Regions from separate parts of the Homo sapiens genome. Here all the other regions are linked to region 3. Evidence: promoter capture Hi-C in 16 types of primary human blood cells and fetal thymus (Javierre and others, 2016). All regions are on one chromosome and are shown on one strand. The core of a region is centred on a gene start or on the middle of the fragment in contact, and the rest is flanking DNA. Distances in the headings are between cores, read along the strand shown. Region 1 has its middle 6.4 kb from the start of PABPN1. Region 2 has its middle 3.5 kb from the start of EFS. Region 3 holds the start of MYH7 (myosin heavy chain 7).

What was found. Contacts are between HindIII fragments. The CHiCAGO score rates a contact against its expected background, and 5 or more counts as called.
Region 1: a contact is called between a fragment that was not itself captured here and the fragment with the promoter of MYH7 in region 3, in 1 of 17 cell types (megakaryocytes). The highest score is 10.2, in megakaryocytes.
Region 2: a fragment that was not itself captured here is called in contact with the fragment with the promoter of MYH7 in region 3 in 1 of 17 cell types (megakaryocytes); the score reaches 5.1 in megakaryocytes.

What each region holds. Positions count from the first base shown.
Region 1 is chr14:23,326,495-23,329,277 of GRCh38, forward strand. No RefSeq gene overlaps it. Among named protein-coding and RNA genes, the nearest start is that of PABPN1, 6.4 kb to the left of the region's middle. RefSeq lists a silencer at 1,699-1,788. The HindIII fragment of the contact is 1,983 bases long and covers 505-2,487 here.
Region 2 is chr14:23,367,242-23,370,046 of GRCh38, forward strand. No RefSeq gene overlaps it. Among named protein-coding and RNA genes, the nearest start is that of EFS, 3.5 kb to the left of the region's middle. The HindIII fragment of the contact is 1,158 bases long and covers 900-2,057 here.
Region 3 is chr14:23,434,293-23,436,992 of GRCh38, forward strand. MYH7 (myosin heavy chain 7) reads right to left here and starts at 1,368. Exons shown (of 40, transcript NM_000257.4): 1 at 1,328-1,368. RefSeq lists an enhancer at 1,228-2,065. The HindIII fragment of the contact is 1,386 bases long and covers 1,247-2,632 here.

The sequences.
Region 1 (2,783 bases), core at 246-2,745, 110 kb before region 3:
GTCAGGAGATCAAGACCATCTTGGCTAACATGGCGAAACCCCACCTCTACTAAAAATACAGAAAATTAGCCTGACGAGGTGGCGGGTGCCTGTGGTCCCAGCTACTCGGGAGGCTGAGCCAGGAGAATGGCGTGAACCCAGGAGGTGGAGCTTGCAGTGAGCCAAGTTCACACCACTGCACTCCAGCCTGGGTGACAGAGTGAAACTGTCTCAAAATAAAAAAAGGAATAGCCGAATTACTGACCTAATGGCGCTTTTGTGTGCTCCTGATACAGCTTACGTGCAAATGAACTATCCATGCCTGCAGCCCTAGAGCTTTGGATTGGGGTCTGGGTAACCTTGTCTTTGGGGTCTCGCTATGTTGACCAAGCAATCTTCCCATCTTAGCCTCCCAAAGTATTGGGATTACAAGTGTGAACCACTGCACCCAGCTACCTTTTCTACCTCAAGGTGGGCCCAAGAAATGCAGAAGACAAAATACACTTAGCTAAGAGACAATCGGAAAGCTTGTTTTTCCAACCATGCAGTAACCATTTAATGTGTCCAGCTAACTTATATTAATTGGATCATTTATTTTTTTGAGATGGTCTTGCTTTGTCACCCAGGCTGGAGTGCAGTGGCTCACTGCAGCCTCAACCTCCCGGGCTCAAGTGATCCTCCCACCTCAGTGTCCTACATAGCTGTGACTATAGGTGCCTGCCTTCACACTTGGCTAATTTTTTGTAGAGACAGTTTTGCTGTGTTGCCCAGGCTGTCCCAAACTCCTGAGCTCAAGCAGTCCTCCTGGCTTGGCCTTCCTATAGGCGTGAGCCACAGCTCCTGGCCAGGATTAGTTTATTAGGACTTCACAACTGGCTTTCACTGTTTTCATATCTAAATTTTGTCTTGGGCATCCTAATTTCTCCATTTTTTATTCCAGTGTCAGATTGGTCTTAAAACTTGAACACTACATCACTAGCCAGGTTGAACCTTCAGACTTCATTACCTATAGAATTTCTTAGTATTTCAACCTTACTATTTTTTCATTTACTTCTCAGGATGTTTTGTTCACAATTGCCTCTGACCTGGATGCTCTTCAAAAATCATATGTTAAAGAAATGGCTCTGTGGCCGGGCGCAGTGGCTCACACCTGCAGTCTCAGCACTTTGGGAGGCAGAGGTGGGCGGATCACTTGAGGTCAGGAGTTTGAGACCAGCCTGGCCAACATGGTGAAATCCCGTCTCTACTAAAAATACAAAAATTAGCCAGGTGTGGTGGCATGCACCTGTAGTCCCAGCTACTCTGGAGGCTAAGGCAGGAGAATCGTTTGAACATAGGAGGTGGAGATTGAGGTGAGCTGAGACTCAGCCACTGCACTTCCAGCCTGGGTGACAGAGCGAGACTCTGTCTCAAAACAAACAAAACAAAAAACTCTGTTATATCTGAAGCCTTAACCCACCTCTCAAATTGCAGTATTTTCTAAAATCTCATGTCAGTGTTATCCACCACATATTTTAGGATTTGGTCATTTATTCTACTTTCTGTTATGGGTTAGGCATTTGAGGTCTATCTTTTCTCCTAACTAGATTCACCTAAAATAGTGCCGTGATCTCTGTGGCTTCTGCAGAGGCTGATTAGTGAGGGTCTGGATAGTGTTCAATATAAACTTTTTACTGGAAGAATGAAACAGCCTAAGTGACTTGTTGCTGTTAATGCTGTGATGGTCTCATCTGTCCACCAGGGGGCACTAAATGGCTGGCTCTAAAAGATCCCCATAAATTGTTGGGTATTGGAGGGTGAATCATGTTTTGACCCTTCTCTGGTTTAGTTTTCCATATTCAGTCAATTCTACCATATCTTGTCTGTTCTCTCTATTCCTACTTTCACTGCTTGAGTAACTCCCCATCATCATTGCAGGGGTCCTGGCAGATGTATTGGCTTCAAATTTTTTTTTGAAAAATAAAAATTCCTAAAAAAAGTACTTTAAAAGATAGGGTCTCGCTATGTTGGCCAAGTTGATCTTGAACTCTTGGCCTCAAGCAATCCTCCTGCCTCGGCCTCCCAAAGTGCTAGGTTTATAGGCGTAAGCTACCATGCTCAGCCTCCAAACTTCTTATTGCCAAAAAAAGCCCTCTATGATGCCACCAATAAGTACAAAGTCCAAACACAAGCATGGAACTACAACCTTTTTCAATCTGATCCTGATTACATTTCTCTTCCAGATCCTGCCCTACACCTGATGTACTATGCATTGTAGTTGTTATTTATTTTCATGTATCCCTCATGCTGTTCCCTCTAGCCTGCTATGCTCATTCCAACTCTTCTATGAAAATCACGCATATCCTTCCAAGTGTAAGCCAGGTACAACAGACATGAAGCCTTTCCTGATTTCCAAGTCAGAAGTAATCACTCCTGCAGTCAGGACAAACTGTTCCTATCCCTGTTTAATATTTACTTTGTGGTTTTATAATGAAACTAACTACATTTCTGTTTTCCCACTAGAATGCAAGCTTCTTCTTTTTTTTTTTTTTTTTTTTTTTTTTTTTTTTGAGACGGAGTCTCGCTCTGTCGCCCAGGCTGGCCTGCGGACTGCAGTGGCGGGATCTCGGCTCACTGCAAGCTCCGCTTCCCGGGTTCACGCCATTCTCCTGCCTCAGCCTCCCGAGTAGCTGGGACTACAGGCGCCCGCCACCGCGCCCGGCTAATTTTTTGTATTTTTAGTAGAGACGGGGTTTCACCTTGTTAGCCAGGATGGTCTCGATCTCCTGACCTCATGATCCACCCGCCTCGGCCTCCCAAAGTGC
Region 2 (2,805 bases), core at 229-2,728, 67 kb before region 3:
GAGAATGACTCTGTGCATAACCTTATTTGGAGACAAGATCAGAAATGTAATATAAGGCCCTTGGTGAACTTGAGGCCCTGGACAGATAACCTTGCCTCAATATTCCACAGGCCCACACATCTAGGCATTTCCTAGGAGAGTGTGGTCAGGACACCTGCCCCAGCTCCTTCCCCACTGTATTACCTGGGCACCTGTGAAGAAACCTCTGCTGGAAGGGTGTGGTGGAGCCTATGGGGTGGAATAGGGAGAGATTCTGGGATAAACATGGGGATGGGGATAAACTGTGTTGGCTCTAGGCTGGCTCTCCATGATGGAAGACTCCTGAATAGATTCCAACTCCACTGGGATGGTAGAGGAACTTTTAAATTTCCAGGGAGAGCTCCTGCTTCCCAGCTCCAGTTAGGTTAGAGGTGGCCACTAGGGAAGATTTTCCAACCTCTTCCAGACCCCAGCCCTGGGGGACCTGGCTGCCAGGCACACGGATATCCAGCTGCTGGCGAGTGACTTGGTGTGATCTCTGCCCAGGAGACTGCCAAGGCAAATTGGGGTCCAAGGTGGAGGTGGGCAGGAAACCCTGTCTTCAAAGATGAATGCTTTGACTGGCACGAGGGGAAATAGATGGAGGCCAGAAAAGGCTAAGGAGGAAGGAAACTGCTAGGACCAGGCAAGGGTTGGCTTGGGAGATGGGCAGGCAGTTTCCCTGCCCGGGGAAGGGTAGAAGAGGGACAGCAGAGGACAGACCAGTGGGAAATAAGGCTGCTTCTGGAATATCCAGGTGTGGAATGGAGCCAGTCAGAGTCACAAGTGAATCCTGCTTAACTAGCTGTGTGACCTTTGTCCAGTTATAGGGCATCCGAGTCTCAGGTCCTCCTCTGTGGCAGTGACTTTGGTGAGGAGTAAGCTTATGTAGATTGCCAGGCACAGTGCTCTTCTTCCATGGCTTTTCCTCTTTACCTTGGCTTCCCCTCTGACTTGTGCTTTCCAGAAAGCTGAATGTGTTCGTTGTTGAGGGCAGGTGAGGTTGGAGAAAACCCAGGCTTGGCAGGTAGCTGAGACCCTGGGTGGGTGGCAGCCTCAAGCAGTGGGTCTTCAAGGTTTGCCCTTGCCATATTCAGGGAGAAGAAGGGAAGGAACCCCTCCATTTGGCTTCCCGGGTCCCAGTCTTTTCTCCCATTCTTTCCCCTTCCCTGCAGGTCCAATGAGCTGGTTTTTTCCTCACCTGACCCCAAGACTTCCTGGACCTCTCCTTGTTTCTCCTGCTACCCAAAACTTCTTGGGTGCTCACCAATTCTTCAGTTCTCCTCTCTTTGGACCCATAGCACCTAGATTGCCTGGGTTCTAATCCTGGTTCTAACACTGGCTAGTTACCTTGGCCAAGTTCTGTGACTTCCTGGAGCCTCTGGTTCCTTGTCTGTAGAGTGGGAATGTTAATTGAACTTTTAGCATTTACTTGTTATGAGGATTAAGGGAATCCCAAGAACAGTATCAGGCCCATGAGGTGTAAATTTTGGACAAAGGCAACTACTATTATTGTTATTTGGTGATGGCCTTGTGGTGGCACTAGAATGTCAAGGACATGGTGCCTGCCCTCAAGAAACATATCATGTAGCTCATGCTTGAATCCAGTCAATATCTTCCGGCTGACTCTGGAATAAAATCCAAATGCTCCATGGTAGCCTGGAGGACCCTATGTGATCTCCTCCCTGCCCACCTCTTTCACCTCATCTTGTCTCCCTCTCCTCCTTATCTCTTGTTCAACATCTACACTGTCCTTTCTGTTTCTCAAATATGCCATGCTCTTTTCCACCTCTAGGACTCTGCATGTCCTGCCCCCTCTGCCTAAACTACTTCCCCCAGACCCTTTCTGTCATCAGGTGAAATCCTGCATCCTCAGAAAGGCCTTTCCTGGCTTTCCAACTTAAAGTTGCCCTGCCTTCCTCTCCCCCACCCCCAGTAACTCCCTATCTCATAATGCTGTTTCATTTTCTTCATAGCACTTATTATTATCAGAAATTATCTTGTTTCCTTGTTTATAATCTGTCTCCCCCTAAAACGTAAGCTTCATGAGGCAGGGACCTTGTCTGGCTTGTCCTCCCCTGCATTTCTAGCTGTTAGAATAGTGCTTGGAACACAGTAGGTGCACAGTAAATATTTGGTGAGTGGATAAGTGAACGAAGGCAGCCATGACTATAGGACAAAGCCGAGTAAGCTGAGGGGCCTCCTGGGGAAGGCTACAGCCCTGGACTAAAGACATGGGTTTGTTGGGTTCTTGGTTCTGCTAACTCTGATTCTCCATGTGTCTCCCAGGGTCTAGACTGGGTTCTCCTTGAAGGCTGCTCCTGAGCCTAGGCGTTTTTGTAGCTAAACCATTATCATCTACCAATCAGAAAGTGGTAGCACTGTTCTGGGGGCCTCCATCTGTGCCAGGTGTTCAACCTTTAGTTGCTGGATCATAGGGAAGTATGGTAAGGTGGTGTCCCAAGGCTGAAGGAAGCATCTACTTACCAGCAGGAGCAGAAGTATTTCAACATTTTGATGTTCGGTGCCTTAGCTTCATGTACAGTGAGTGCCGATGAGCTTCAGTAGACCCTGCTGAGTCCTGTGGATTCAGCACTATTTCAGGAGCTGAGGTCTGGAGCAGCTAAGCTGGTTGGCACCTTTGTGACCATCCAGGTCAATGTTCCCCCCAATCCCCGCCCACCCAAACCCACCCACTTCTACAATTGAAGAGGGAGGAGCAGAGAGAGGGCTCAAGATCCAGAGCTGGTCATTGGCAGGGCCAAGACTTCAAGGCAGCAGGTGGAG
Region 3 (2,700 bases), core at 118-2,617:
CCTGACCAGTCCCACCTTCCTGCTTCTCCCTGGCTCTGTTCTTCAGCATCCACCCTCTTCCAAAACAAGGTGGAAAGGGTGGTCAGCTTCTCTGGTCCCATCCTTCTTGTTTTTCAAACCCTATTCCCTTTTTCCTCAAGAACTAGTTCTAACAGCTTCCTGGTGTCAACTCAACCTGAACCCTAATCCTCTTCACTCCTGCGAGATGGTCCCACCCCTGCCTGTACCCATCTAGTGGTACCTTTCTTTGAGCCATCTGAGAGACAACTAATGGTCACATTTGTTCGGCACTTTCCAGTCTAAAAGCACTTCAATGCACTTTCTCCTACTCAGTCTTCACCCCATTTGACAGATGAGGAAATCGAGGTTAAATGGCTTGCTTGGCCAAGAGCCCATGACAACAAGTGGGAGAGCCAAGACTTGAATGCAAGTCTGATGACTCTAAAGAGACTTCTTTTCCATCCTGTCCCCATTTTGTTGTCAGACTTTGTGGACATTCTCAGAGAGAAGACACTGTGGGCTTCCTCTCACAGACACACCCATCACATAGCCAAACACCCTCCACAAGCCCTCTGATGAACACTCATGCCTGCTGCTTGGGCATGCCTCTCACATGAAGACAGGCTTCCTTCCCATACCTCAATCCGCACCCCAACCCCAGGGTGCCATATATGCCTCAACAGCAAATGTGCACATTTCAGGATGTGTGCCACGTAAGTAGATCACATCACTGCGTGTTCTTCAGTACACAAAGACCTGGAACATCCTACACCCCCGTGCCTGTGAGTTCCTTCTGCAGAGGGTACAGATACTATAACAGTCATGACTCGTGGAGGCATAGACAAGAACCTCTGCATGCATGGACAGGGGTAGCTACACATTCCAGGCCTCACAGAATCACATGAAGGCATACACACTTCCTAGAATCCTTCTCCACCATTCTTTCTCCCTCCCTGCAAAGGAACCTCCTCGTTCACAGACGTGATCATACACCCACATCTCCCACTTGATATTTCTGTATCAGTCAGTGAGGTACATACCCTTTCTCACATTCAGACTATGCAGGCTTGTCCACACACACACACACACACACACACACACACACACCCTGTAATGCATATTGGTCCCATATGCTCAGATGCAGATATCTTCCCCTAGGAACTCCTGTGGCACATACGCCCATGTTTAGACCTGCACATGTGTGCCCAGTGACTGGACCTGGTACTCTGCATGAAGTCCTGCATGAAGCTTGCTATTCCAAGAGGAATCCCTTCCTAAGCCTGGAGCCCCCTTATCCCAGAGTAAAGCCTCCAGCTCCCGCTCCTACCTGAGAGCAGCAGGGAAAGACACAGAGCAGGACAGAGCTGTGGAGCCAGACCTGGTCTCAGGGGCTGTATATATGGGGCAGCAGGGCACCCCCACCCCCAACGGCACCCAGTCCCTAGCCGGATTTAGAAAGGGCTGTTGTCACTAGAAGCATTTCCCCCAGGCTCCCCCCCTTCCCAAACAGTGCTCCCCTCCCCGCCTCTCCAGCTAGGAAACAATTGGAAGTGGTCGTCATTGTTATGGCATGGACTGTGCAGGGTCTGAGTTCCAGGGGGCGGGGTGGCTCAAAGTGCAGCAAAAATATCTCCCAGGCCAGGCCTCACATTCCACAGCTGGCAGGAGAGGGAACTGACCACGACCACCAAGACCACAGGCAGCCAATGTCCTGGCTCTCCCGCAGGGCACTTCTGGCCCTGGACACTGCTCCCCCTCCAGTCCCCTGCTGCGAGGCCCCTGATGGCCTGGCCGCATTTCCACAGTGTCCTCCCTGCTCTCCTGGCCCAGGTCCTGTATCCAACTGGAAGCTGGGAAGGGGCTGAGTGTCAGCAGCAGAGAAGGGTAGGACAGAGTTGGGGGCATGGCCCCAGGGTGAGGCAGCTAGACTGGGGCAGCTGGAAGGACATTTCCTAGCCAGGTGGCAAGAACAATAACCATGGAGCTTAGAGATGGGGACTCTGGCTCAGGCACTGATTTCCTTGGACCAGCAGGCAATGTGTTGAGGTCACCAAGCCTCCGAGCCAGACAGGCCTTTAGCAATCCATCCAAGCACTTCATTTAATGGAGAGGGACAGTGCATTCTTTAAGGTTATACAGCTAATCGGGGCAGCAGGATTCAAGGTGGGAAACCTCAGCAGATGGGAGTGGAGCCCGGCCTGTGGAGGGTAGCCTGGAAAGGTGGGCTGGGATTCCAAAGATGTGGGGACCCCCTATGCGCAGAGAGCAGGACCCAGCTGCATTGGTCCTAGTTTGGAGCGGTTTGCCTGACTCACGTTCCTGGCTCTGCCCCACAGGTACTAAAGGCCTGAGCCCAGAGACAGACCCTCTCAGAGCTATAGATAATACAACTACTTGGAGCTGGAAGGAGACCCCTAAGACAGCTGTTGTCTGGCCCACCCAGCCTCAGCTTTATCCAGAGCTGGAGGCGACTAGTGTTCTGGCAAGTGAGGCAGAGTAACAGGACAGGAAAAATCTTCCCCTCTGCAGGCCTGAGGAACAGCCACAAAGGAGGGGAGGAAAGGGAGCTGGGGCCCAGCCTACGAGCACAGAACACAACCGATGCCATGCTCTTCTAGCAACGGGGCATGCAAGCTTGACTGGCTCCGTGTCTAGGCAACCACTGCACGATTTGGTGTGAAATCTCCCCCTTCTTCCCAA